Regions from separate parts of the Homo sapiens genome. Here regions 2, 3, 4 and 5 are each linked to region 1. The links are contacts of gene promoters, found by promoter capture Hi-C in human tissues and cell types (Jung and others, 2019). All regions are on one chromosome and are shown on one strand. The core of a region is centred on a gene start or on the middle of the fragment in contact, and the rest is flanking DNA. Distances in the headings are between cores, read along the strand shown.

Region 1 (5,886 bases), core at 2,030-4,529:
ACTAAAAGGATCCACCATTTCAAAACGATCTCCCAAGTCTATTTATATTAGACATTGCTACAGTTTGATTCTCAGCTATGTTAAGTAATAATTATCATCGGAACCAAGACCATTGAATACTCCTGCCCTTCATCCTTTTTTCAAAGCAAACTTGCACACACTGTAATTCTTTTAAGAATCTTTATTTTTTTTTTTTTTAACAATTCAGTCGGTTGGATCTCGATGCAGTTTATTAAAAAAAAATCAGTACATTTTCATATAAACTGCAATCAAAAAAGTAATTTACTTTGTCAAAGAAGTTATGAAGTTGCAAGTTATTTTTTGTAATATGCAGAACAGTAAAATGTAAGCATGCTCTTGGATGCAGGTGCTCCTGTGCACCATGGAGTTATTTTGAAGAGCCTGCTAACGTCTGCAGGCAGTTTATAGGATGCAATTATTTTCTCCACAACTTAGGTACATGAGAATAAAACTGATATTTATGAATAAAGTATTTTTCTCGAAAAAGTTGAGGCAGCTTTTGTTGAATGCTATCTGTGTGGGTACACTTGCTACACCTTGAACTGTACTGAGAGAGAGACAGACAGCAAGAAGCCCATGTTCATGCTGAAACCTGAAAAATCCCTCCATACGTGTTGAGGAGTTCCAAGAAAAAGAAGAGGGTAAAACACTATACACAACTGTTCATCGTCTTACATTAACAGAACACACCGAGAAACTTTACATAACAAGGAAGCAAATCCCCTTCACTGCTTTTAGTCAAAGTCCGTTGTATCTATAGTGGAGGATGAAAGTGGAGCAAGCCTAGTAGGGATAAAGCTTAAGTCTACATCTCATGCAGAGTTGTCCTTGGTCTGTCCTCTAATATTTCTCAGACATCCGAGTTAGAACTGAGGTTCGTTAATCTGGGGTCCGCATTGATTTCATATCTGTAATGATACCCTTCCATGTGATCCCTGCAGGCATCTCTGATGTTATGCATCCACTTTTTTATCCCCTTGCGGTTCAAATACAAAACCAGGAGGAAAATAGCGCCTATCAGGGCTAAAACAATACCCAGGAAGACATAAGAGGTTTGCAGGGATGGGGGAAGAATCGGGTCACAGTCCAGGTCAGCACTGTTGAGTTCCAAGAGGACCCGATTCCTCATTTTTTCCGGATATGCACAGGTGAGCCGGTCTTTGCCCTGCACTACCTCTGTTTCCTTGAGCCAGGTCACCATGTCTGCCATGTGGCAGTCGCAGACCCAGGGATTGTTGTCCAGGAAAACCCTAATGTGGGGTAGACCTTGCAACTCAGCCAGGGTGCCATTGTGAAGGACCTTGAGGGCATTGTCCTCCAGGTGGAGGCTTTCTAGATGTGTCAGGTTGCGGAAGGACACGTAGGTCAGGCTCACCAGCGAATTATTACTTAAGTCCAGGTGCCTGAGGCTGGGCAGTTGGGCCAGCACATCCCGCGGCAGGTAAAGGAAGTGGTTGCTGGCCAGCTCCAAGCGGCGGAGCCCCTGCAGTGCACGGCCCGCCAGCAGGGCCGCCACCACCATGCCCTCGAAGCTCCGGTTCTGCCGCTCATCTTCAGGGGGCACGATGTGGTTCAGGATCAGTTCCACAAGGGGACTGGGGGCCGAGACGCTGGCATTGCTGCCCGAGAAAGCGAAGGGACTGAGGTCGGCCAGTGGGTTGTGGCTGAGGTCGAGCTGGCGCAGGCTGGGCAGATGCTCGAAGGCGCCCGCGCGCACCTCGTCCAGGCGGCTGCCGCTGAGGTTGAGCGCGGCCAGCTCCGCCAGCGGCGGCCGGCGGGCGAAGGCGCCGGCAGGGAGCACGGCCAGCTGGTTGCCGGTAAGGAAGAGGTTGCGCACGTAGGCGGGCAGGTCCGTGGGCACCTCGGTCAGATTGCGGTTAACGCACTTGACTGTGCGCGCTGCCTCGGAGCACTCGCACAGCGCGGGGCACTGGTCCGGCAGCGGGGGCTGGGCGGACACGGCGGAAGCCAGGAACGGCGCCGAGGAGGAGAAGGAGGATGCCGAGGAGGTGGGAGAAGACGAGGAGACCCAGCCCAGGAGTACCAGCGCTAGTCGCGCCAGCCGCAGACGCCCGTCCCCGGCGGCGGGGCCCCGGGAGCACCCCCCAGGCATCGCGGCTCGCGTTTCCCCGGAGCTGGGCTGGGACGGCGCCCGCTCCGAAGGCTCGGGAGGCTGGGCCCGGAGGGCGCGAGCCGGCGGAAGCGTCTGGAAAAAAAAAACTTTCCTCTCGTGGAACCGAGGGAGTGGCGCCGCAGCCGGAACTTGGCTAACCCCCTCGCCACCGGGCGCTTCCCTCAGGGGCCGATTCCCCCGCCCCTTCCCTCCAGAAAGTACGCACGGCGGGTCGGGACGCTCCGCTCCGCGCTCCTGCTCCCGCTCCTCTTCCTGCCGCCGCCCTGGTGCCACCTCTTCGCCTCTTGTTGGCGCCCCTCGCTGGATCCTCTGAGGGACCTGGGACAAGCAGGAGAGAGGCGTGAACAGCGGTGGCTGCCGCGGCTTCCGGAGTGCAAAAACCGGCCTTTTCGAGTCTAGTCGTCTCCAGTCTGTCCCAGAGACCTCCTTCCAAAAGCCCGCCCCGGCCTCGCCTCCCCAACCCCTCCGGTCACTTTTACTCCGGAGGGGGACGCGCATCCGACACCCAGACCGCAAAGTCTTCCTTCTTCCCTGGCCCACACTAAATAAACCCGACCGGCCTCCCGCCCTCCGCCTTTCCCGAGGAGACTCGTCTCCCGCGTCTAACTTACCGCTTAATCCCCAATTCCTTCCCTACCAAACTTCTCCCTCTCCCGTTCCTTCCTGCACCGCCTCGGCGGAAGGTCGGCCTCCGGGTGTCTCCGCCCCCGCCCAGACCTCTCCACCAGGTCCCGGTTAGGATGCGAGGGAAGTTTCAGGTTACAGGACTTTTTGATCTCTTTTTGTACCTTCTCGCATTAGCAGGAAGTGGAGCTACAACTGTCGCCCCCCAGCCCGCGCCCCGCCAGCCCCTCGGATCTCAAAGGGGTTCAAGTCATCTCCAAAGAGGAGGGGAGAGTCTGGGAACAAAGCAGCAGTGGGACTCGGGGTACAGTGGCAACCCGAACCAACCCTACTCTCCACCCGAGGATGGGGAGGGGCCCCAACGACGCCTCCCGGGTCTCTCCCAGGCCGCGGGCTCCCACTGCTCACCTCCGCGTCCGCCGCCTCCAGAACCAACTCTGAGTTCCACCAGAGTAGCGACGACTTCCCGGCTCCGCGTTGCGGGCGCCGACTCTCTTCGCACCCCAGCCCCTGGCCCAACCTCCCAACCTCCGCAGCTGGGAAAAACCAACCCGGGGGGCGGGGGAGGGCCAGGACTGTCGGGGAGATTCCCGACGCGCGGCCAACCTCGGCAGCCGTAGGTAGGGGGATTTAAGAAGAGAGACTAGGGGAGCTGGGCTGCGCGCCTCCTCCTGGTGGAAATTAACGAGGAATGTGCCGGAAAAGGTGAGGGAATCCCTTTCTCTCCCCCCTCCCCGACATCCTTGGGTGGTTCCTCATTTTGCATACTGTATTTACCTTGGACTGGAGCAAAACCGCTGGTGAATCTCGTGGAATTCACCCTGATTCAGGCACCTTTGGCAGTGACGAGATAGATTTAGGCATGACAGAGCAGCGCGAAGCAGCAGCAGAAAGAAATGAGCTGAAAATCTACTGCGGCAGCAGCAAAGGCACGGCAGGTTGTATGGAAGCTTCAGAAGCTCTCCCCATCAAAGTGGTACTTGAGGCCGCAAACTTCAGATTTAGGTGTAATTAATGCCTTCCCGCCTGTCCCCCCCGCCCCCTCACTTCTTGGGTAGTGATGGAACTTGTGAAGAGAGCGCGCCAACTTTAAGAGAGAGAGAGAGAGAAAGAAAAAAAAAAGATTAGTGGAGAGGAGATTCATTCCTGATTCATTAGCTTTTCTCTTACCAAAATTAAAAGCAGATGGAAGAGAAAGGCAGCCAAAGGCATCCCAGAAACAAAAGGCAAATAGCAAAGACTTGAGTCTCCCGGAAAGCGGACCCGCCCCCCTCCCCAGATGTAGCGCGGTGTGTCAAGTCACTTCTGTGGAGAAAGCTCCAAGGATGAGGAGTGGGGATTGCAGGAGCTGACCTGGGAGAGAAGTTTGGTTTCAAAGTCGATTGTCCCAGGGGGCATCTGGCAGATGGTGATGGAGAGGATGGGGTTGGGGAGAGGGACAAATTGAATGGTTGGTTACCGGAAGGATCTGTTATTATACCAGACAGGTTTTGGGTTCTGAAAGCCCTATCGTTGCTCTCTGTAACTCCACATCCCCTTTGTCCCAATTAAATAATTTCCCCGAAGGGATAAGAAGGTTCTTCCAGGCTTCTTCATTTTAGAGAGAAAATGGCAATTAGGGAAAACATGGTTCGGAAATTTAAGACCTGGTCGTATTAAAAAAGATCAAATAAGGATCCTGAGGCTTGTGCCTGGGACATGTGCCTTTAGTGTGAAGAAAGACCCCAACTCTCCAACGGACGCCTGATTACTTTTATAGAAAGAGATAGTCTGCAAAGCCGACAGCAAAAATGGCTCAGACAAAAGCTGAAAACACTGGAAACTGCAGAGATTTGTGCACAAAAGCTGGTTTCATTAATTTGCATCTTCAGCACGTTTATCTACATCTCTTTTCTTATTTTTAAAAGTGTTTTGCAACATGAATGTAAAACACTTTGAAAAAGAATCTCTAAAGCTGTAGTCATGTTCTGTATCCGGATTGTGGTGGTGGTTACATAAACCTATACAACGTGTTATAACTCATAGAACTTTGTAAACCAAAAGAGTCAATTTTACTGTATGATAAGTTTAAAAATAAAATTAATTACTCATTGGAAAAAACCTGTAATAATGCTCTGGCATGGTATTAACTCTGGTCCTGATCTGAAGACCAACTGCTTTGTTAGGAGAGTGAGATACACTTTAGAATTTAGAAACATAATATATATACTCATCTGATTTTCAAGACAACTCAGAGGCAAGATAAATATTGTTAGTATTATTGCTTGTTGCTATTATTGTTGTTGTTCTGTTGTACAAATGAAAAAACTGGGGCTTTAAGTTAGCTTGACTGAGTGTCTTCCACTTGCCAAGCACTGTGCTGATCACAGATATTATCTCATTGACTCTTCACTTCGGTACTCAAGTTAGGTCCTCTCACTCCAGTTTTACAGACAAGAAAATTGACGCAAAAATAAATTACATAACTTGTTCAAATGAGTGATGGAGGTGGGAACCAGGCCCAGATTTGCCTGCCTCCCATATAGTACATCCCACATTCTGCCTCTAGGCAAGATTAAGGAGTTTGTGCAAAGTTCTACTCTGTTCCACTTAGGCAGAACGTAAACCTCACCTCTTGTTCCCTTTTTACTTCTTCTGCCTCCACCTTCCTGCAGCTGGCAATTGCTTATGGCTGCTGAATAGGGACCCAGAAATTTAGGGTCATTTCTAGCTCTGACACTTGCCTGCTGTGTGTCTTCTATAATAGGACCACTAATGAAATTTGAAGATATTTCCATGAAAATTGAGATAAATATGTCACATACTTAGCAAAATCATCTGTTTTGATAGTTCTCTCCTAAATTACCCCCCTCATGTTATTTATTGTAATCCACTATATCTCTGTAACTATGTTAGTAATAGGAATACAAGGATAAATAATTTAAAGTCTCTTTAAGGTAGAGTTGCCAGATTTAACAAATCTGGCAAAACAATGAATACCTTTTAATGAACAAAACAATGAATACCTTTTAAGTGTGTCCCATGCAATATTTGGGAAATGCACCCAAAATTTTGTTGCTTATAGTTGAAATTCAACTTTAATTGAGTATCCTGTATTTGATCTGGCA
Region 2 (5,886 bases), core at 2,068-4,567, 250 kb before region 1:
TCATTCATACCTAGCTCAAATGCTTCCTCTCCTAGAATCTCTTAATTTTCTTCCAGAACTCTCCTTTATTCAAAAATATTTATTAAGCATCTAGTATGTGCCAGGCACTTGGATGCAGCAGAAAAAAAAAAAAAAAGAAAATTCAAAACCCTACTCCTATGTTTTTTTTTTTTTTTTAACATGGTTTATTGTATTTTCATAGTGCCTCTTCTTAGTTAGTCATAAATGCTGTAATACAAGGGCAGGAAACTTAAAAAAATTAGTCTGTCTAACCACACCTGTAATGGGTTGAATGGTGGCCTGCCAAAAAATACATCCATGTCCTAACCCCTAACCTAAGAATGTGACCTTATTTGGAAAAAGAGTTTTTGCAGATGTAATTAAGGATCTTGAGATGAGATCATCCCAGATTATCTGGATGGGCCCTAAATCCAATGTCCTTATAAGAGAAGACACAAACACAGAAGTGAAGGCCATGTGAAGATAAAAGCACACATAAGAATTATACAGCCATGAGCCAAGGAATGCTTGGAGCCATCAGAGCTTCCTAGAAAAGGCAAGAAAAGATTATCTCCTCTAGCCTTTGGAAGGAGTACAGCCCGGCTGAAACCTTGATTTTTGGACTTCTGGCCTCTAGAACTGTAATAGAATATATTTCTCTTGTTTTAAGCCACAATTATCACAAATTTGTTTGAAATTTGTGATAATTTTTTACGGAAGCCACAGAAAACTAATATACCACCATACTTTGCAGATGACCAGAGCTGGCTAAAATCCTTAGAACCCACAAATAATAAAAGGATTACAGTCTTCACCCTATCCCATACAGGTTAGGACCTGTAATTTGAAAGAAAATCATTTCTAAATAGAAAAACAAATACCCATGCTGAAATTAAAATAGTTCCCTTTCAGCTTTTCTGATTATAAGATTCTAAAGAGTTCATAGAGTATGATTTGTTCTTTTGCTTCTTTTTTCTATTTTTTTCATTGCTCCATTTCTTTGGCTGTAATGCTTTTTTTTTTTTGCAGAACACAAACAATAAGCCAGCTCATAATGTGGGAATAAAGTGATACAGCATGGGAAGCACATGGTGCTAGTCACTTGGTAACTAAATATGCCTTCTCTTTATTTTGGGACTGGTGATGGGGTGGTGGCAAGGGTATAATGAAGACGAGACATACTTTGTTCCTTGGTCCTATCTACTGACTCAGTGGTTCGAGATCTATGAGGTAGAGACATGAGACAATTCTCCAGATAATTTGAATTAACTCAGCTCAACAGATTCATTCTACCTTGCAACTGGCATTTGGTGAATCTCACAGTTCTTCATTTCTGCACTACAGTTTTTCCAGTCACCAGATGAGGTCATCTGTGTTCTTCTCATTGAATTGTTCTAGAACCATGAGGCAAGATGTATCTGGGTCTGATTCCCAAGAAACAAATCTTAAAATTATTTTCCTTGAGTGGATGAGGAAAAAAGAAGCAAGAGCTTTCTCCTTGAGATGTTTCTGGATTTGTAGGTGGCTGATTGAGTGGCTATGAGCCGTGCATGAGCCTTAGCGTTTCTTCCAATTGAGAGTGAAAATAGCATAATTTCTTTGGGAAACTTTTTACTGTCAATTATATCTTACCTCCTGGAGAGACTAGCCAGACAGACTCCACTGACAATATGTAAAGGAAGCATCTTAAGTGCCACTTAGTTGTCCCCAGAGCTTTAGTCACTCATAATACTTCCTCAAGACTGTAAAAACATAACCCAAAATTATTTTACCTTTTTTTAAATTGAAGAATTCTTTGACCTTTCTCTAATAGTTGCTCCCTAGAAATTTCTTCTAGCTGAAGCCATACTTTACCCTGGCCTTCCAAACAAGTTAATGTCTTTGTACGCAGGTTTCCTCGTATTCGTTTGAAAATGGGGAAAATAATAACGACATTTCTTTCTTTTTGAGCCATAAAGTTATTTTCTGAACTGACTTCCAATTTATTTAGATCAAATAGACTAGCACTGTTATCACTAACAAGCATTCATATATCTGCCTTATCCCTACGCAAATGCGGCACATTTGTTATATACTACAGCAGATTCTTGGTGTTCGACTTCCTGTATCTTAAGTTAACCCTGAGTTCAGTCTTAGTAGAACTTAGCAGCTGATACAACTGTGTGATATACTCACTGTTTATAGCCAGCTTCTGTTCTGATTGACTGGTGTCCATGTTAAATACTTGGAATATCACCCTTGTTTAACTGCCATATTTTAAAACTGATCAGTGAAATAAATGGCTATAGGAGTCCATATAGTGCTTGTAAAGTACCACAGTGTTTGAAAAAGATTTTATTTCCTAAAATATGGTGAGTTAACTCCCAATCTTGGAAAGGAATGGGAAATCTAATGGGCAGTATTATACCTTGTAACCACTTAGGTTTGTTACTCCATTTAGTTTAAATGATAGATGTTGGAAGAGGCAATCTTCTTCTGTGGGCTCTGAGTATTCCTGCATGCTCTTTCTGGGTGTGCCAGCCAAGAACACAGGGTCTCGTCTGCTCTTTACGAGACATTTCTTAGAGTTGAGTTTGTAGTGAGTAACCTAACCTTGAAAGATGAGGTAATATTTTCCTGGAGACCAAAGGTAGGCTTGCTTCTGTTTAGTATAAAAACAATAAATCCCCAAGCTCAGTGTTCCTTTCCTGTAAATACAACCCATTTTCTTTGCAGGCATCCATCATGAGCCCTTTGTGTTGCCCCATACAACTTGGGGCACATGGGGACCTGAAGCAAGCAACCATGAAACTCTGGTCACTGCTTTTGCTATGAGTAATAAAGTCTTTTGTCTCCATCCCAGGAGTCTCATGCCTTTTGTCAGCCATCAGTGAAATAGTAACAGGCTCATTTGTTAGTTTGTAAGTAGAATAAAACCTTAACTCTTGCAGAGTTCCTGAGGGTTTTCAAATATTTCTTATGTAAACCCCAAAATAGGTCCTATAATGTTTATTTATATTGTTTCAAACAATTAGTGAACATAAACAGTATAGAATCTTGGTCTTTTATCCTGACTCTACCACTGAGTAAATGATCTTGAGTAAGTTTTTTTTTTCTTGTAGGCTTCTGTGTTTTCATCTGTAAAATGAAGGGGTTCAACTGTGCCCTGGGGAGTTGATGACAAGTCACTTCAAGGGCACTTGCATTAGTCCCTGGTTGTGGGTTGTTGGCTATGGCTGGGGACAATGATATAGCTGTGTTGACTGGCCTGGTCTCCTACCCTCAGCAGGGCCAGCAGCTGTAGACACTGTCCCTCATCAGCTCTCTTTCATATTTCTCTTACGTATGATTTCCTCCACACTTTTCCTCATACTTCCTAACTCTCTCATTTCCTTTTTCTCGGGAAAAAAACAATGCAGATCATCAGAATTTTTTCCTTTCTATCCCTTGAGCCACGGACTGTGCTCTGGATACCATCCATCTTATCAATCCAGGGCTGACACCTGGCAGGAAGAGATGACATGTGGTTTCAGACCACACAGTCATTAAAGTCTCTAAGAGTTCAGCAGAGAGGGAAATTACTATGAACTGGCATGTGGAAGAATGGGGAAGAGTGACCTGGACCTTCAAAGCTGGCATTCTGAAATACAGAAGGAGAGCCCTGCCTCAAGGACTTGCCTTCTAAGACTCTTTCCCTACAGGAATGTAGAATATTTATCTCAACAGGGAACACAAAGAGCTGGCTTTTGCTAAGTTGATCCACTGTCCCAATTTGCCAGAATTAAGGGTGTTCTTGAGACATGGGACTTTAATATGTTAAGCCAGGACAGTCCTGGGCAAACTCTACTAACATATTCTTCTAGATCCACACTTTGTGGTATAAGCTTTATGTCATAAGGTCCTCAAATATTAAGGTTTTGGAAGCTCAGACATCAAGAATTTGATGTAGCCCCCACTCCCCAAATATTGCTGTAACAATGTGCTTAGGAAAGGCAATAAACACCCCTGAATAAATGGAAGAAAGAAAAAATTAGAAAACATAGTAGAAAATGTTGGTTAACATAACATGTATTATCTTCCTATAGCTATCTTTAATAACTTGTAAACTAAAATGGTTTCATTATGATCCCTTTCTAATTAATTTCTAAGTAATGGGAGTGAAAATACTCATGAAAATATGCTTAGAGCAAAGAACTGATATAGAAAAAAAAATAAAAAGTGAAAGAAAAGGGCATAGAGAGAATGTATACCTATATAGCGAAAAGCAACTGTCAGGACATAAAATTAAATATGATTAATAATGGTTATCTCTGGGTGTTTATTTTTATTTCAATATTTATGCTTTTTTGTGTTTCTAATGTAACTATAATAACCACATATTACTTTTGTAGTAAAAAATAGCTGTTAATTGCAGCTTAAAAAATGAGAGAAGAAAAGATGTGTCAAGACCACAGTGGGAAGGACTATGTTAAGAAATATTAGGATTTCATGCTGGAGACAATGGAAATCAATTGGTGGCTTTTAAGCAGGAAAACCACTTATTGTTCTTGATCAGAGGAAGAGTTTTAGATCAGATTTTTGAAAAGGATCCTGATGGCACAAAGGGAGGTATTGCCCTGGCTGGAATATTTGGTTTTAAACATGGGTCTCTTATTTTCAAATCCAAAAGTAATAGAAGTGCGGGTCCTCTGACAGGTGACTTGAGATTCATTCAGGCCAGAGGGCCCAGCCCAGTGCCTGCCAAATATTTTGACATAGGTGAGCATTTATTTCTCCTACTCAAGTGGCCTGCCCTTTTCTTCATCAAAATCATTTAAAGGTCAGCTAGAAAACTTGTTGAAATTGTCAACTTCCACTTTCTCTGAATTTCTGGTAATCTGAAGTCTTCTGAGTTTAGCATCCCCCTTTCTGAAGTCTGAGTTTTTATGAGTTTGATTTTATATGATTGGTTGTACTAATTTGTAGTGATATATACTACCATGGTGCAATGAGGAACTGTGCAAAGAAACAAAGGATGTTTGTTTTATTTTATTTATTTATTTATTTATTTTTGCTAGATATGTTTGTTGGGGTTTGGGACTTTATGTAATTCTGTAATCACTTGCCAAAGAGAGAATTTGACTAAAAATAATATAGAGGGGCTTCATCAAGGAGTGTTTATAGATACATTAATTACTGTGACTTCGCACCAGAATATGAAGGAAATTATGACTTGTACTGAGTGCTTCTTAGTTCTCTTGCATTTTATTTAGGAATGAGAGTTAGGGGATTCAATGTGTGTGCTAAGGTAGCATGCTCTAGACAACACTATAAAACCATGAGTCACCTAGGGTCTCTGAGGGAGGCCTTGGCTTCTCTAACTGTGGAATTTAAAGCACACAACTGTATTGTGTGATTTTTTCTGTTCTGTGTTTTCAGCAGCATTATCTGAAAAGAATTTTCAGTCTGCTGCTTGTATGCCATGCTGTTGTCATCTTACTGAAACATGAAGTGATTTAAGCTTCACAGCTGTTATTGTTTTCAATGGAGCAGCTGCCTGGCACTTCCAGGGACAATGACAGGTTCACATGGAGGCTATCTATGCAAATTACAGTAGAAGGTTGAGCAATAATCTGGTGAATTTGATCATTACAGACAGTCTAAATAATTCAGATGCAGATAGTGTAAAGTTCTTTCACTGGCCAGAGCAATGCAACAAATTGCTTTAGTTCCTTCACTTGATTTAGTGACTTTGGACTTAGCCTTAGTGATCAATTTAATAACCAAATTCATAAGAGACTGATGTATGAAACTAAATGCCAATTTACAATGAGAACCACAGTTCATGCCAGTAGATTCTCTCTTCATAGGAAGAGCTATATGTGAAAATTACTATAATCAGAAGATGAACTTATAATAACAGCCTGA
Region 3 (5,886 bases), core at 2,171-4,670, 210 kb before region 1:
AAACTTCATATGTTGAAACAATTGCCAATGTGATAGTATTAAAAGGTGGGGACTTTAGGAAGTGATCAGGTTATCAGGGCTCCACACTCGTGGATGGGATCAGTGCCTTATTAGAAAGGCATCACACAGCATTATCCTTTTGTGCTCAGCCTTCCACCATGTGAGGACGCAGCAATAAGGCACCATCTTGGAAGCAGAGAGGGAGCTTTCACTGGACACCAAATCAGCCAGAACCTTGATCTTAGACTTCCCAGACTCCAGAACCGTGAGAAACAAATTTCTATTGTTTATAACTTACCCAGAGTTTGGTATTTTGTTCTAGCAGCAGGAGCAGGCTAAGATTGTACTAGTTAAATTTTGCAATTATGGGTAATTTGCCTGTGCCTGTGTGATAGAATTGATCATAGTATATCATAGTTAATTGTTCATATATTTGTCTTTTTTGCCCACTGGTAAGTTTCTTGAGAGCAGGGGTGGGAACTAGACCTTATTCAGTTTCGTTTCTCTAAAATATTGCCTGGCATAAATATTTATTGGATAAATGAATGATCAATGTATTTGAGAAATATCTTTAGTTTGAGATTTGTCTTCACCCATCTTCTTTGCTAGTCTCACTGAATTATACATGTGTGTTATTTTAAATCTCTGCCTATGAAGGTGAAAAAAGAAAATCTGTCTTTGCACAATCTCAAAAACAACTAAATGTAAACAAACATGAATAAAATTCCAATCTATTTCTTTAATAGAAAAGCCCAGTAGCAAACCAATATGATTTGAACAAGGGAATTATCTCATTATGGAAAACACATTATGCCCGTATCAACCATTTGCCTTTTTATTGTGGCACAAACAGAAATAAAATGGTCCTGGAATGAAATGAATTGAGTCTTTGAGGGAGAGGTTGCAAAACGGCCCCCTGCCTCCTTCCAGCAGAATGATTTGTCAATACAGAGAGGGCCCCTTCTGGAAAAGGATCTCCTTTCTTTGAAAAGAGCACCTGAAACAAGTGTTACAGCTCCGACCTGGTTACTGAGACCTCCCAGGGCATGCACATATTCTTTCACTGTGCTGCCACAAATAGGCAGGTCTTCACTGGGGACTAGGAGTCTATATTTAACAGTAAGAGTTCATTTTATTCATTATAACATCATGGAAATGACATTTGGGACATTTTATCTGCATAAAGTAGAATCTTTAGAAACTTCTGTTTTGAAAACCATTTCATATCCTCTCAAAACAATGCCTTTTGTTAAAATATTTCTAGTATAGGACTAAATTATGAAGCATTTACTGAAGAAATGAAAATATTCCAGACAGCAAGCAGGCAAGGCAATGGCAATGGCTCAAAAGAACTGAGTTATAAAAAAAATTATCTAAATAGTGTAACATCTCACTTATCAGGACTCCCTTAATAAATAATTTTTGACAATTCTGATAAAATTGAAACTGAAAATAACTTCTACTTCTGTAGAAGAACAAGACTTTTCTTTCTTAAGTAAAGAAATAGCATAAATATGATGTTTATTTGGGAAGAGTAAATAAAAGCCCATTTAATAAATACCTATTTGATAGCCATTTTCAAGTACTTTGGCCCCACAAACCTACATGTACTAGGCGTATTATAGTATAACATTTTCTTTATTCCTTTAACTTCTCTTCTTCATTATCATTGGTGAGAAGGTTTTGTTTTCGTTTTATTGCAAAATAATACATCAGCCCTGAGAGATGATGAATATTGGCCAAAGAAGAATCTGTTTAGTCTTATAAATACTCCACAAATGCTCCCAGAATGGATCCAGGAATAGCTTTCCATAGTTTGACAACAACAAGCAATAGCTGGAAGTAGCTGAGATGCTATGGGAGGACTGAAGGGAAAATAGATTTTGGGGTGCCCATTCCTAGATAACTCTGAATGACCTGACAGGGACCCAGAGGAGACAGGACAAGGGATGTTGTGACTTTCCTTTGGAGTCAGAATGTTTTGAATTGGCTGCTTATAAATTTGTGTTCTTTCTGACCATGGTCTTATTGGCATGCCCTTCCAGGTAAGTAGGTCCTTTTGGCAAGGTTACACTTACCCCATTGTTAAAGGTGTCCTTTTGCATAATTCTCCTCAAGCACTCATAAACAATAAAAATGTATTCTTTAAACATATGTTAGAAATCACATTTTAATTTTTACTGGCCTTCCTTTCTGTTAGCTTTGCTCATCTCTGATCTCCGAATGCTCTGATGTTTCCAAACAGGCAAGTCCTTCAATGTTCTCTCATTTTCCTTGTTTGTCTACCTCCTCTGGCTCTGCTGTAGATTGGGGTCAAGTTACTTCACAGTAGTAGGTCCTTGTTTTACATTCTTATAATCTCCAAAGAGCAGAGTATATAACAGGAACATAAAAGTGTTCAATAACATGTATTGCTTGTTTGAAATTTTAAAAATCGGAAAGCATAAATCAAACAAGGTTCTTCTGATTTCAACTCAGTCTTTTCTCTGCTTTTCTTAAATCTCTTCTTGAAAATTTTAAGAAAAAGATGTAGGTATTAAAGTCACAAGTTTAAAAAATCAGAATAATAATAATAAAAGACCTTCCTTTCTGCCAGAAGCAAGAGTGATACAAACGTGAATGCACTGAATCCTCTTCACCCACATCGTGCCATAGAGCCTGTTTTATAAGTTAGTTATAAGCTGAGCTCTGTTGTTATTCAACTGATAAAATATGTGACATGTTTCATGTCAGATACAACTACTCAGCAATTTTTCACCCACTGTGTCTTCTTGCTGCAGATCAGCATCCCCCTACAACCACCGACTGAGAACCTTCATCGTTCTCACCCCCTGCCTCTTCTCCACCCATTATGCACAGTACAGCAAGAGGAAATGGTAGCTCTCATCTTAGAGAAGAAATGGAAAACTCTTTCTTTCTCTTCCCTTCCTTATACTAGATGTTCCCAAAGGGTTATCCCACCACCGATCATCACATTTGCTAATGTGAAGCCACAGCAGTTCCTTTGTTACATGCTTTCATCATCAGCCCCATGTCCTAATGAATTGACTTGAGTATGTACACCATTGCTCTCCAGAGGAATATAATGGGCCTGCTTAAAAACAACCACCCTTTCCCATGCTGTGCTAGTTCATTTTCAGTAAACACTCTATATCAGAAAATGATTTTTTGCTCTAGCAGTGATTTTGTGAGAAAAGATTGGGAAACACTGCATATTGATTATTGCTGAGAAAAATATGAAAATTAACTGTTAGTTTTTTTCTAATTGTTGGATAGATATTGAATTGAAAAATAATAATAGTAAGATTACTGGGCTATTTGTTAAGAAACTGGACTATCTCTTAATGCCAATATCATTAGAGGTTCTTTTTTTGTTTGTTTAAGTTTCTTGGTAGTTTTATATCATAGAATCATAGAATCTTAGAAGTAACCTTATAAACCCTCTAATCCAGCCCCATTAATTTAACTTGGGAAAAAGTTAACAAAAGAATAAATACTCATAATAGTATATTATACTTCTTTTTTTAAGCTTAAAAATTAAATCTTAAATTTTAGAAAAGATTTTATTTACAAGACATTGCAAAGATAGTACAGAGAATTCCTGCATACCCAAAGACAATTTACCTTATTATTAATGTCTTAAGTTAATATGGCACATTTGTCACAATTACTAAACTGATATTGATATATTAGTATTTATGAAAGTCAATACTATATTCAGGTTTTTTTAGTTCTTTCCTAATATCTTTTTTCTGTTCCAGGTTCTCATCCAGAATACCACATTGTATTTATTTGTCATGACTCCTTAGGCTCCTCTTGGTTGTGCCAATTTTTCAGACTTTCTTTGTTTTTAATGACCTTGACAGCATTAAGGAGTACTGGTCAAGAATTTTGTAGAACACTCCTCAGTTGGGATTTGTCTAATGTTCTTCTCATGGTTAAGCTGGGGTTATGGGTTTGCGGGAAGATACCGAGGTAAACCGCTCACATCCATTAAGGATACGTACTATCAACATGATTAACATTGTTAATGTTAACCTTAACTATCTGGCCAGGGTAGTGTCTGCCAAGTTTCTCCACTACAGTCACACTTTTTTTTTTTAAACCATTTTACATATTGTACTCTTTGGAAGAAAGTCACTTTGTGCATCCCTCTACATAGATTATTTGGAATTCTTCTGCATGGGAGATTTATCTCTTCTCCCTCATTTATTTATTAATTCCAATATTTTATATACATATGGACTCATAGATAATTACTTTATACTTTGAGATGTGATATAATACTATATTTATTTTATTGGTTGAATTGTTCCAGCTTTGACAATTGAGAGTGCCTTTAATTGGCTTCTGTGCACTTTTAATATAATCTCATTGGTTTGTGTTTTTGTTTTTTTGGGGCATTTCCTACGTTCTGGTAATATAGATATTCCAGGCTCATCTTAAACATTTCCTGCTCCAATCCTAGAATCAGCCTTCTCTTCAGCTATCCCTGGTTCATTTTATTGGAGAATGATATTAGAAACTAGTATCTGGATACCGGTTTTACTCAATGCTATTGGAATGTCATTGCTTGTATGCACTGTGAGCTGGCACAGCAAGGAAATACCTGCATATGGGTATATACTAATCTGATTATATACACATATCTATAAATATTTCTATATTTTACCAACCATATAAATATTAAGCTAAACATGATTTCATATTGATGTCTCCAACTCTAATCTGTTACCCCATGGATTGTTCCAGACTTCTCCCCTTGCTTATCTATGACCTTCCATTTCACCAGTGAGAAATCTGGCTTTTACCACCTGACATCTACTTAGGTAATTGTTATATTCCACATATACTGATTTTAGAATTACTAACTTATATCCCTGTGGGAAATAACTTTATCAACTATAGAACAGTGCTTAGGTATAGTTCCTTCTGCCTTTTGTCTTATAGACACACTCATTTCCAAAATCACCTAAGTTAGTACCTTTTTCCTTGTTGATGAGGTTATTTCATAGCTTTGTAACAAAATTAGATTTTTTTTTGGCAGGGGGTCACAGTCTATATTCCATACTGGGATCCTTCAACCTTTAAATGATTTCTGTTAAATTTGCATATAATAAGGTTCACACTTTATACTCTAAAATTCTATGGGTTTTCTCAAATGCATTGTGTCATGTATCCACCATTAAATATCATAAAGAATAGTTTTACTGTCCTAAAATATCCCATGTGCTTTAATTATTTCACTTTGTCCTAATCCACCCCTTCCTGAATCCCTGGAAACCAGTAATCTGTTTACCATCTGTATAGTTTTCCCCTTTTCAGAATGTCATATAAATGGAAAGATACAGACTGGCCTTTTCAGGCTGGCTTCTTTCTCTCAGTAATATACATTTAAGATTCATCCATGTCTTCACATGGTTTGATGGCTTATGCCTTTTTATTGCTGAATAGTATTCCTTTATATGGATATACCACAGTTTGTTTATCTATTCACTTGTTGAAGAACATCTTGGCTGCTTCCCATTTGGGGTATTATAAATAAAGCTGCTGTAAACAGTCTTATTTAGTCCAGTGTGGTTTAGGTGTCAGTTGCGGGTATGGGATGGGAGCTCTTCTCCATAAGATCTTCCAAGGACTCAGGTCAATAATTTACACATTGAAAATATGTGTATCTCTCAAGTTTTCTCTGGTGTTGACATACAACTAGCAGCTAGGGAGAGGACATGAAATAGTGCCATAGATTTTGTGGGCAAGTTCTGGATATGGTATATGCTTCAATTATGCCTACATTCCTTTGGTTAGGACTCAGTTGAATGACCGTGTTAACTGTGATGGCAGCTGGACTCTATGCACAGGAAGAAAAGAAAATAAGTTTGGTAAACA
Region 4 (5,886 bases), core at 2,009-4,508, 190 kb before region 1:
CATCTGAATGTTGTCCTGCCTTGCTAGATTGGGGAAGTTCTCCTGGATAATATCCTGTAGAGTGTTTTCCAACTCGGTTCCATTCTCCCCATCACTTTCAGGTACACCAATCAGACGTAGATTTGGTCTTTTCACATAGTCCCATATTTCTTGGAGGCTTTGCTCATTTCTTTTTATTCTTTTTTCTCTAAACTTCCCTTCTCGCTTCATTTCATTCATTTCATCTTCCATTGCCGATACCCTTTCTTCCAGTTGATCGCATCGGCTCCTGAGGCTTCTGCATTCTTCACATAGTTCTCGAGCCTTGGTTTTCAGCTCCATCAGCTCCTTTAAGCACTTCTCTGTATTGGTTATTCTAGTTATACATTCTTCTAAATTTCTTTCAAAGTTTTCAACTTCTTTGCCTTTGGTTTGAATGTCCTCCCGTAGCTCAGAGTAATTTGATCGTCTGAAGCCTTCTTCTCTCAGCTCGTCAAAGTCATTCTCCATCCAGCTTTTTTCCGTTGCTGGTGAGGAACTGCGTTCCTTTGGAGGAGGAGAGGTGCTCTGCTTTTTAGAGTTTCCAGTTTTTCTGTTCTGTTTTTTCCCCATCTTTGTGGTTTTATCTACTTTTGGTCTTTGATGATGGTGATGTACAGATGGGTTTTTGGTGTGGATGTCCTGTTTGTTAGTTTTCCTTCTAACAGAGAGGAACCTCAGCTGCAGGTCTGTTGGAGTACCCTGCCGTGTGAGGTGTCAGTGTGCCCCTGCTGGGGGGTGCCTCCCAGTTAGGCTGCTCGGGGATCAGGGGTCAGGGACCCACTTGAGGAGGCAGTCTGCCCGTTCTCAGATCTCGAGCTGCGTGCTGGGAGAACCACTGCTCTCTTCAAAGCTGTCAGACAGGGACATTTAAGTCTGCAGAGGTTACTGCTGTCTTTTTGTTTGTCTGTGCCCTGCCCCCAGAGGTGGAGCCTACAGGGGCAGGCAGGCCTCCTTGAGCTGTGGTGGGCTCCACCCAGTTGGAGCTTCCAGGTTGCTTTGTTTACCTAAGCAAGCCTGGGCAATGGCAGGCGCCCCTCCCCCAGCCTCGCTGCCGCCTTGCAGTTTGATCTCAGACTGCTGTGCTAGCAATCAGCGAGACTCTGTGGGCGCAGGACCCTCCGAGCCAGGTGTGGGATATAATCTCGTGGTGCACCGTTTTTTAAGCCGGTCGGAAAAGCGCAGTATTCGGGTAGGAGTGACCCGATTTTCCATGTGCCATCCGTCACCCCTTTCTTTGACTCAGAAAGGGAACTCCCTGACCCCTTGCGCTTCCCAAGTGAGGCAATGCCTCGCCCTGCTTCGGCTCGCGCACGGTGCATGCACCCAGTGACCTGCCCCCACTGTCTGGCACTCCCTAGTGAGATGAACCCGGTACCTCAGATGGAAATGCAGAAATCACCCGTCTTCTGCGTCGCTCACGCTGGGAGCTGTAGACCGGAGCTGTTCCTATTCGGCCATCTTGGCTCCTCGATCTCCGGTGACTGCTTTTAAGTTGCATGTATGAGTTACAGCATTTCTTTAAGGGTGACTTTGTTTAAATGCACATGATGCCTGCTAGTGTCATATTCCTTTTTCTTCTTCAGAGCCAATGAGTTAAGGACACTTCGCTAGGGATGGACCATCAATGAAGAGTTCTGAGTTGGATACCTGTTTAGAAGCTAATATTAATGTATAAACCTGCCAATGTTAGGAAGAAAATGCTAAAGTTCAATAAAAAACATTTTCTTTTACTCAAGTAAACATTTGATATCATAACCAATAGACTTTATGTTTACCTTCCCTTCAGGATTTAACCTCCAGGTAAGTTTTCTCGTATTTGATTGTGGAGTAGAGCAAGGCTAATAAAAATCATATCACAAAGTGTATGATTCAGAGGGATACCAAAATCAGTTAATAAGCACCCTGAAGAGGACTGAAATATAAGGAATTATCATCATTGATTTGTAAAGAAAAAGTCCTGTTGGTTTAAACTTTTATAACAAAATATCTGGCTAGGGTACAATGCAAAATAATAGATATAATCTTTCCTGACTTTGCAAGACTTTTGAATTTGTCACATATAACTTCTTCAGAAACCTGGAAAAATATAGGTACATCATTACCTGGTATCTGAATTAGTTGGGCTTTGACATGTGTGATAGGATTAAAGGGGTTTCACAGAGGAATTAGGGCCTCTGGGATATGGACAGAGCTGAGGAGTGAGGGTTAGGGAGGCTGTATAGGTTAGAGGCTAGGGAAACAGTTACCTTAACCTAAAATGTATGTCCTCTAAATTTTGGGGGGAAATGGATGAAATTCCCAATACTCTCTAGAAAAGCTTCCACCAACAGAGCAGTCTGAAGCAGCAAAGCAGGCACTCTGAAGAAGCCTAAGGAACCTGTTTACCAACACGTTTGGCCTCCGCAACAATTGTTCTTGGGCATAATGGCTTCTCTTCCCTCTGCCTTCCCAATCTTGCATCAATTGTTTTCACTGGCAAATTCTAATATGCAATCACACAAAAAAGAACATTCTATGCAATGGATTTCCCTACACATCTACATCACATAGGAGGGAATGCATGATGTCAGGTTAACAACAGACCATCCAGCAGTCTCCAAAGAGTGACTACTACTTGTCACCTCAAACAAATCAGACTTTGGCTTCCCCATGCAGACCACACCGAAGAATATTATCAATCTTCTGTTGACAAATGATATAAAGGAGACCATTCTCATTTATTCATTTATTTTCCCATGACAACAAGCTAGACAGTAAAATGAGAGATTGAGTGGCCAACATGTTGAACTGGAATTAGGATTAGAATCAAAAATTAAGCATATACAAAATGCTAGATTTTTATAAAGCACAGTCATGTGGGAGAAATGCAAAATTGCACACATATAAATAAAAATGGACTGACTAAATGTGTTAAAAAAAAAGAAACTATTTGGTGATATTATGAAAACAGAGTCTTAGAACTTCTGGAAACTTTAGGAATTGTTCAGCCTTCCTTTTGCCTAAAGAAAAGTACGAAGAACTCAAGTTTGAATAAAGCATCCAGGGAGGAAGCAATGATAAGGCTCTAGGAGGTGGCATTCACCTCTGCCCTGGGTCTAACTCTGTCTTACAGATGCAGAAATTTGTTTTCTTTGATGATATAGTTGATTAAATATAGAGCAGGCTGACACAAATTGGGTGCTAACAGAATACCAATTTGTTAACTTTCTATGAAAAATATAACTGCCAGAGACCAGAAAGTCATGTTGGTCTGAATAGCACCTCTGCTTCCTATAGGCAAGTGACAAGGACAGCCAAATCCCCAGTGGGTTCCATGGTTGGTGTAATGACAGCAAGATTTCAGAGCTACTATAGCAATCTCCACAAGGAGACCATCGTGGCCAAGTGTCAGAATAACCTGACCAACACCCTCTTCCCTGGATATTGTTTGGGTGGGCATTGCCAAGATCTAACTCTGTGATTCTCCCTTTTCAAGCTTTCCTGGTTGATCAACACCTCTTCTGAGCAACACCATCTTTCTCATAGTATGTGATCTTTAATCAAATGACCATCCTGTTGGTTCTGGATTTTTTTCCCATTAAATCTGTCTTAATCTGGGATGTTTTATATTAATTTTATAATTTCACTCTCATAGGGCAATCCTATAGTTCTTATTTCTGGCAACTTACTATTATATGTCATATAGGCTGTGGTAAGCCAATGACCATAGGGAAGTCTACCAATCAACTGAGGGCTTTATCAATCTCTTTCCAGTATCCTCACTTCTGAATTTAGAGAAAAGCGTAAAAGGGAAATAATTCAAAGGAAAGCCAGTGAAGATGATTTATAGTTTTGAGAATGACTCATGGAAGAGTCAGAAGTACTGGGAGAAAGCTGAGGATGGATATAATAACAGTGTCCAAAAATGCTGCATTGTTAAACATATGAGACCAAATTATTTTGCAGCATGAGGGAGTTAGGCTTGACATAAAGAAGAACTTCCTTATGGTGAGAAATGTGACAGATGAATAGGCTACCAAAAAAGGTTTGGCAATCTGCTCTGCAGAGGTTGAAAAATGAATATATTTTCACTTATTTTAGGCCATAGTTCTTTCTGAAAGCAAATAAATGGGACACATAGCATTTCAATTTTTTCTAGGTCTGAGATTCGTGGATTAATTTTCTCAGGAATAGAGTAATGAATCCTTTCACAGTTAAGTGAACTCAGAACTTCAGTTGGTGATCCAAGGTAAACTACAAATAAATTCCTTTTTGTGCCCTGGTTTTAACTTCCTTTGGGCAAAAGAAAAAAAAACTATTTGAAAAACTGATATAACCAGACTGCCACACATGCATAGAGTTGAACATGCCACATATTGTAGGTAATTTCAAGGGATTCATGAACTCCGCACAGCTTATACAATGAGCCACTTAAGGGTCAAGGGACTCAGGTTAAGAATAAAACAAAACACACAACACTCTTCCTGGAAGAAATGTATTCTTAACCCAGAAATGGGCAATTCTATTTTTACATTTATAGCAAAATTCTTCTGGAATCTTTTCCACCTCATGTATGCCTTCGCACCATAAGAAACATATGGCTTGAACATCTCTTCCTTCTCACTTTTTTCTCTTTTGTTCTGCCTCCTAATTTTTTTCTTCCTCCGATTCTCTCATACCCTCTGCTGTCTTCTTTTGTTCCTTCCACTCTGTCAGGGTCAGCCTAAAGTTTCTTCATAGCTCCCTAAAACTAAATCCACAGCAATGACAGGCTCTTAAAAACCATATTTCCTAAGTCCAGATTTATGTCACACCTACAAGTATGTGTGGCAGAACATCACCTATGAGTAATTGTACAGAATTTACATGAAAATCCCATGTTTTTCAACTTCTTGCGATTTGGGATCTGAGTGGCCTGAAAAACATAGAAGACATATGACAGCCACATGGCTTAAGTGTTTAGATCTCAGATGTTTCCCCATGGAGCCTGGCCAATGAGGAATTCTTTTGGTAGCACTTAAGTTGCCTCATTGCCATCTTTAGAAGAGCTCCTCAGGTTCTAGAGCCACTGTTGTTTTTCTAGAAAATCTGGACATTCCCTTGGGGAGCACATACTAGGCATGGTTTAATAGAGACTGGCTACACAGCTGGGGGTTGAAAGCTATGGTATAGGGTCACCACAGCATCACCATTTAGGAATGAGTGGGCTCATTTGTTTTAAAGGAATAGTTTGGGAGGGCAGGAGATTTTTATCGAATAAGGTATTAAGGAGTTCTTCCAAGTGTAGCATTTTTTTTCCCTCTGGTGTCTACACTGGCTGCTTGTTTATGTATTTTTCTTGGGCCTGAACAATTTTCAACTTTGAATTTCTCCTCTGCAATCTGTGAATAAAGAAAATGGCTCTGGATAGAGTAACTCGACTTCTCTTTGGCAGATCTCATGTATCCCAGAAAGTGACAAAGGAGAGAAAGATTGGAGAGGTGAAGGGAATTGCCAAAGGGGCAGAAATGAGAAAAGAAACTAAATTCCTTGAAGTCTTCCCTGACCCCTGGGTGATTAGAACTTTCACCTTTTGAGAATCCAGCACTGTAGGGATTCCTTAGATTATAGATAGAGCAATTATAAATCTGGAGACTGGTTAAAGGTTGATAATAACAAAACTTTAAAGATAAGCCTTCTGCTAAAAGACATAATCTGTTTCAGTTTCAGAAATCTTTTAGTAGAATCTTAGAAATGCTTTTTCCCATTATGTTCTGTCTTTTCCCATAAAGAATGCAGCGAATGAACTGAGTTCTGGAATGTATAAAGTGCAAAATAAGATCACAAAGAGAAGTAAGCCATCCAGATAAGGAAAATAACTATATCCTGCTCTTCTGCTGGCAGGAT
Region 5 (5,886 bases), core at 1,768-4,267, 150 kb before region 1:
AGTCAGGAGGCATGGGGATCAGGGACCCACTTGAGAAGGCAGTCTGTCCCTTAGCAGAGCTTGAGCACTGTGCTGGGGGATCCACTGCTATCTTCAGAACCGACAGGCAGGAACGTTTAAGTCTGCTGAAGCTGCCCCACAGCTGGCCTTTCCCCCAGGTGCTCTGTCCCAGGGAAATGGGAGTTTGATCTATTAGCCCCTGACTGGGGCTGCTGCCTTTCTTTTAGAGATGCCCTGCCCAGAGAGGAGGAATCTAGAGAGGCAGTCTGGCTAGAGTGGCTTTGCTGAGCTGTGGTGGGCTTTGCCCATTTCAAACTTCCCAGTGGCTTTGTTTACACTGTGAGGGGAAAACTGCCTACTCAGGCCTCAGTAATGGTGGACGCCCCTCCCCCGACCAAGCTCCAACATCCCAGGTCAACTTCAGACTGCTGTGCTGGCAGTGAGAATTTCAAGCCAGTGGACCTTAGCTTGCTGGGCTTTGTGGGAGTGGGATTTGCTTAGCTAGACCACTTGGCTCCCTGGCTTCAGCCCCTTTTCCAGGGGAGTGAATGGTTCTGTCTCGTTGGTGTTCCAGGAGCCACTGCGGTATGAAAAAAAAACTCTCGCAGCTAGCTCAGTGTCTGCCCAAATGGCCGCCCAGCTTTGTGCTTGAAACTCAGGGTGCAAGGCTCAGAAAATAGGCTACTGAGTTGGGACATGGAATCTGTGGTTTTTAAAAAATTTCATAGGAGATTGTGATGTACAGTCATGTTTGGAAACCACTGACTTAAAAGATAGCTACACTTTTAGCAAGAAATAATTATTTCCTATAACAAATTTCACATACTTTATAAGGGCAATATAGCCATGAGATACTTTTTCACCATTTGTATTACCATTTACCACAAAATGACTCCCACAACCTATGTAAAAGTGGACTTTAAATTCTACCCCGTTAGGGATTTTTCTTTCCAGTTAGGAATACTCTTTTCACTTTTCCTTGCTCAAGTGCAAATGTCCCTTAGTAGGGTAAAATATAAAATCACTAACTGATTTATACAATTTTCCTTATGAGATACATTTATGTTATGCTTAAAAGCATCAAAAGGGATGAAGAAAGAGAAAGAAGAGGATGGGAAAGAGGTGAAAGGCTGGTCTCAATGCTTTTACATTGTTTTAAATTCACATGTACGCCAGACTTTCCATTCACTACAGACTTGTTCCAAAAGTTGAATACATGACAATGAGCAGGAAACCACAAAGTTCAGATAGTGGCATGGCACTCCCATATCCGCCTCAAGGTGTATGCTTTCAAATGTGAATCTTAGTGAAATGATAAAAAAAATCTATACCATAAAATATGCATGAGTTGAGTGAGAAAAAAAGTCTTCCTACACACCCATGCCTCAAAATAGCTAATATTTTAGTTTAACAATTCTGTGAAACTTCAAACAAAGAAAAGCTACATGTCCCCGCCATCATATCCCTCCAAAGTTCTGATTTATCTATTAAATTTATGAAGGTTTATGGTTCAATCGAAGAGATATTTGCAACAAAAAAGATAAAGCCTAGATGATGGTTTTCTATTGTCTGGGATCTCTGTTGTCTGCTATCCTCTTTTTGGGGTTATTCTTATTCTAGGGACTTCATAGATTGCAAAGTGGAATAGCCAGTATGACTGGGCCATTCTCCCAGATTTTATCAGCTGCTCTTCACAGAAGACATGTAACTTGCTTAGGTGCTCTGGTGCTTGGACTGTAAGACCTTCCTCTGTGGTTCCTAGAATTCTGTTCTCTAAAGTAATGAAATTTAAAAGTTAGCAAAATTTGTCATTAGCACCATTTCCCTTCCTTAAAGTCTTCATCTCTCCTTCCCAGAGGCCCCCCTTTACCTGCTGCCTTCTCTTTGCTGCATACCTTCTTTTTATAACACCCTAATCTCTACTGCTGTTCTCAAATAGTTTGGGGGGTTCTGGACCTCCTCTACTAGTTCCAGTTACAGAGGTGCCCCAATCCTAGCTAGCAAATCTAATGAGCTAGTTTGTTTAAAGTGTTAATAACCAAAATGATTTAGGTGCTACTTCCTTGAGGCTAGGTACTTATTTGGCCTGAACCTATCTAAGCTTTATTTGGGAATAATAGTATTAAATAACAAATTTTATATTTTTAAACACTCATGGATACTGAATTTTCTGAGAACTAAGGTGAGAAATTTTCTATTTTCCATAATCAAGAGTGTCTTCTCAAAATCTAATAAAATTTAAAGAAACCATCTCTGGTTTTAAGTATTAGAAATGTGTAATGATTTACTTTTCTTGTTTAAAATGAGTATTTAGGAGGTCCTATTTCTGCAACTGAAAATAATCTTAGTCCATAAAAGTCTTAGTTTGATATGTAAAATTGCCACAACTTTAGTCTTTATCAAGAATAAGATATATGTATAGATATGACTAAAAACTACTAGCCTAAGCAAGATTTGAAGGTTAGCATAAGTGTCACTGAAAGAAATAGAATTTTTTTCAAATACTTTGCAAGACTGCTCAAGTTAGGAATAGCAATGGAATTGCTCTCACACAAATCATACTGTTGCTTCCAGAATCTGGGACTGGCAAAATGACCTTTGATAGTCAAAGTTCATATACATGCACATGACTAGTCTCTCAATTCTAAATAAGAATTAAAAGTATTAAATATCTTTAGTTCATACTTTTAGGTATTTGTTAAATTAATAGGAAGATGAACAATAGTCCTTTCATTTTATGAATGAGGAAATGGAAAAACAAAAAGGCAAAGTGACTTTCCTGTGGCCACAAGGAAAGTCAGTGGCACATTTCCAACATATTTGATCTGACCCTTCTTGCTAGACTATGCTCCATTTAACCAGCTAAAGCACAGCAAACTATAGTATTTGCTCCCATAACTTTTTTCTTTTTCAAAAAAGGTGTAAAAACACTACTGAAGTGTTAAGGTTGGGCAGCAAAGCCAGATGTGGGCAGATGGCAGACTATGTGTGAACAGCCCTGATGCTTGCAAGGTCAACAGAAGGCTGTGGGGTGTTCATTTGAAATTATATGCAAGTTTGCACTCTCTTGAGGCACAGTAGGAGGAAAAGCCTTCCTGCCTTCCCATGACAATTCAATATAAATGAAAATATGTATTTCTGTAGGTAAGTGAGGGACCCGAAAAGAAAAGAGTTAATACTGACATATGCATTCTCTGCTTCTTGCTGTCAGTTTAGCCGTGCACTTGCCTTTTAATCCTACAGATCCACATGTGCATAGGGGGACATATATACCAGGTTATTCATTGTAACATTGTTTATTAACAGGGGGCAGAGGAAATAAGATTGCTATCCATCAGTAAGCTAATGGACTGTATTTAGTCAGGGTTCTCCAGAGAAACAAAATGAAAGGCATAGAAACACACACACACACACACACCTCAAAAAGTTCATTGAAAAACAGAATTAAAAGATAAAATATATAAACTATTTCTCAACATAAGCTCTTTCAAGTTCAAGACACTCTTGTAAGCAATGATACCAGCCATTTAGTCCATCCTTTAAGAACTGAAAGTTGTGGGAATTCGCAGTCTTTTTTACACATTATTACCTTAAGAAAAATTGGTGCCCTTTAGAGATTTTTTTAAGATAAGGAAACAAAAAGAAGTCAGAGGGAGGCAAATCAGGACTGTAAGGTGGATGTCTAATGATTTCTCATTGAAACTGTCACAAAATTACTCTTATTTGATGAGAGGAATAAGCAGGAGCATTGTCATGGTGAAGAAGGACTCTCTGGCACTTTTCTGCTAAAACTTTGGCTGTTTCAAAGCCCTCACATAATCAGACATTATTGTTCTTTGGCCCTCCAGAAAGCCAACAAGCAAAATGCCTTGAGCACACCAAAAACTGTTGCCATGACTTTTGTGCTTGACTGGTGTGATTTTGCTTTGACTCGACCACTTCAGCCTCTTGGTAGCCATCACTTTTACTGTGATTTGTCTTCAGTATTGCACTTATAAAGCTGTATTTCATCTCTTGTTATAATTCCTCAAAGAAAATCTTCAGGATCTTGATCCCACATATTTAAAATTGTCATTGAAAACTCTGCTCTTTTCTGCAGTTAATCTGGGCACAACAAATTTTGCACCCATTGAGTTGAAAGTTTGCTTAACTAATTTTTCAGTCAGAATTGTGTAAGCTGAACCAATTGAGATATCTACGGTGTTGGCTATTTCTACTGTTAATCGTTGGTCTTCTTCAATTAGGGCATGAGCAAGATAATTTTTTCCCTTGAAAATTGACGTGGATATTCTTCCATTGCAGGCTTTATCTTCAACATCGACTTGTTCCTTCTTCTTCTTTTCAACTTTCATTTTAGGTTCAGGGGATATATATGCAGATTTGTTGCATGGATAAACTATGTATTACAGGGATTTGGTGTACAGATTATTTTGTCACCCAGGCAATAAGCATAGTACACAATAGGTAATTTTTTGATCTTCACTCTCCTTTCACTCTTCACCCTCAAGTAGTCTGTCGTGTCTATTGTTACCTTCTTTGTACCCACCCACTTATAAAAGAGAACATGTAGTATTTGGTTTTCTGTTCCTGTATTAATTCACTTAGAATAATGGCCTCCAGCTGCATCCATATTGCTGTGAAAGACATGACTTTATTTTTTTATGGTTACGTGGTATTCCGTGATGTATATGTACCACATTTTCTTTATCCAGTTGATAGGAATCTAGGTTGATTTCATGTCTTTGCTATTGTGAATAATGCTGTGATGAACATACAAGTGCATATGCCTCTATGGTAGAACTATTTATATTCCTTTGGATATATACTCAGTAATGAGATTGCTGGGTCAAATGGTAGTTCTGTTTTAAGTTATTTAAGAAATGTCCAAACTGCTTTCTACAATGGCTGAACAAATGTACATTCCCACCAGAAGTGTACAAATGTTCTCTTTTCTCTGCAAACTTGCCAGCATGTGTTGTTTTTTGACTTTTTAGTAATAGCCATTCTGACTGGTGTGAAATGGTATCTCATTGTGGTTTTGATTTGCATTTCTCTAATGATTAGTGATGTTGGGCATTTTTTCAAATGCATGTTGGTCACTGTATGTCTTTTTCTGAGAAGTGTCTGTTTATGTGTTTTGCCCATTTTTTAATGGGTTTTTTTTTTGCTTGTTAATTTGTTTTAAGTTCCTCTGGATTATAGAGATCAGACTTTTGTTGGATGCGTAGTTTGCAAGTATTTTCTCCCATTCTGTAGGTTGTCTGTTTATTTTGTTGATGGTTCCTTTTGCTGTGCAGAAGTTCTTTAGTTTAATGAGACCCCACTTGTCAAATTTGTTTTTGTTGCAATTGCTTTTGAAGTCTTCATTATAAAATCTTTGCCAAGGCCTATGTCCAGAATGGTATTGCCTAGGTTTTTTCCTAGGGTTTTTCTAGTTTTAGGTTTTATATTTAAGTCTTTAATCTGTCTTGAGTTGATTTTTGTATATGGCAAAAGGAATGGGTCCAGTTCAAATCTTCTGCATATGGCTAGCCAGTTATCCCAGCACCATTTACTGAATAAGGAGTCTTTTCCCCATTGCTTGTTATTGTCAACTTTGTTGAAGATCAGGTGGTTGTGGGTGTGTGGCTTCCTTTCTGAGTCGTCCCTTCTTAAAATGAGTAGTTCATTTGTAAACTGCTGATTTCCCTGGGGCATTGTCTCCATAAACTTTAGTGAAGTATTATTGCTTTCACCATTCTTCTACCCAAGCTGCATCATATATTTGATGTTTTTTTTTTCTTGCTTCAGTTTTAGCAGAATTTATGTTACTCTGATAGGGACCCTTTTCAAACTGATGTCTTATCTTTCTTAGTGTCTCAAACTAGATCCTGTTCAGAAATGTTA

The links. Contacts are between HindIII fragments. The study calls those that stand out against the background at their distance.
Region 2: a fragment that was not itself captured here is called in contact with the fragment with the promoter of TPBG in region 1 in 3 of the 25 tissues and cell types used here (H1 embryonic stem cells, IMR-90 fibroblasts and lymphoblastoid cells).
Region 3: a fragment that was not itself captured here is called in contact with the fragment with the promoter of TPBG in region 1 in 2 of the 25 tissues and cell types used here (hippocampus and mesendoderm cells).
Region 4: a fragment that was not itself captured here is called in contact with the fragment with the promoter of TPBG in region 1 in 2 of the 25 tissues and cell types used here (mesendoderm cells and neural progenitor cells).
Region 5: a contact is called between a fragment that was not itself captured here and the fragment with the promoter of TPBG in region 1, in 1 of the 25 tissues and cell types used here (liver).

What each region holds. Positions count from the first base shown.
Region 1 is chr6:82,361,210-82,367,095 of GRCh38, reverse strand. It overlaps TPBG (trophoblast glycoprotein), which reads right to left and starts at 3,279. Exons shown (of 2, transcript NM_001376922.1): 1 at 3,188-3,279; 2 at 1-2,473. The coding sequence starts at 2,134. The coding sequence ends at 872. It overlaps LOC105377875 (a long non-coding RNA gene), which reads left to right and starts at 3,439. Exons shown (of 3, transcript XR_942738.4): 1 at 3,439-3,484. RefSeq lists enhancers at 865-1,766, 1,767-2,669, 2,821-3,332, 3,333-3,846 and a silencer at 1,719-1,798. The HindIII fragment of the contact is 6,837 bases long and covers 2,275-5,886 here.
Region 2 is chr6:82,612,302-82,618,187 of GRCh38, reverse strand. All of the region lies in intron 5 of LOC105377876 (a long non-coding RNA gene), which reads left to right. Among named protein-coding and RNA genes, the nearest start is that of TPBG, 250 kb to the right of the region's middle. The HindIII fragment of the contact is 8,326 bases long and covers 1-5,886 here.
Region 3 is chr6:82,576,056-82,581,941 of GRCh38, reverse strand. No RefSeq gene overlaps it. Among named protein-coding and RNA genes, the nearest start is that of TPBG, 220 kb to the right of the region's middle. The HindIII fragment of the contact is 4,593 bases long and covers 1,124-5,716 here.
Region 4 is chr6:82,554,008-82,559,893 of GRCh38, reverse strand. No RefSeq gene overlaps it. Among named protein-coding and RNA genes, the nearest start is that of TPBG, 190 kb to the right of the region's middle. RefSeq lists enhancers at 576-1,208, 1,209-1,841. The HindIII fragment of the contact is 4,446 bases long and covers 1,036-5,481 here.
Region 5 is chr6:82,507,097-82,512,982 of GRCh38, reverse strand. No RefSeq gene overlaps it. Among named protein-coding and RNA genes, the nearest start is that of TPBG, 150 kb to the right of the region's middle. The HindIII fragment of the contact is 4,007 bases long and covers 1,014-5,020 here.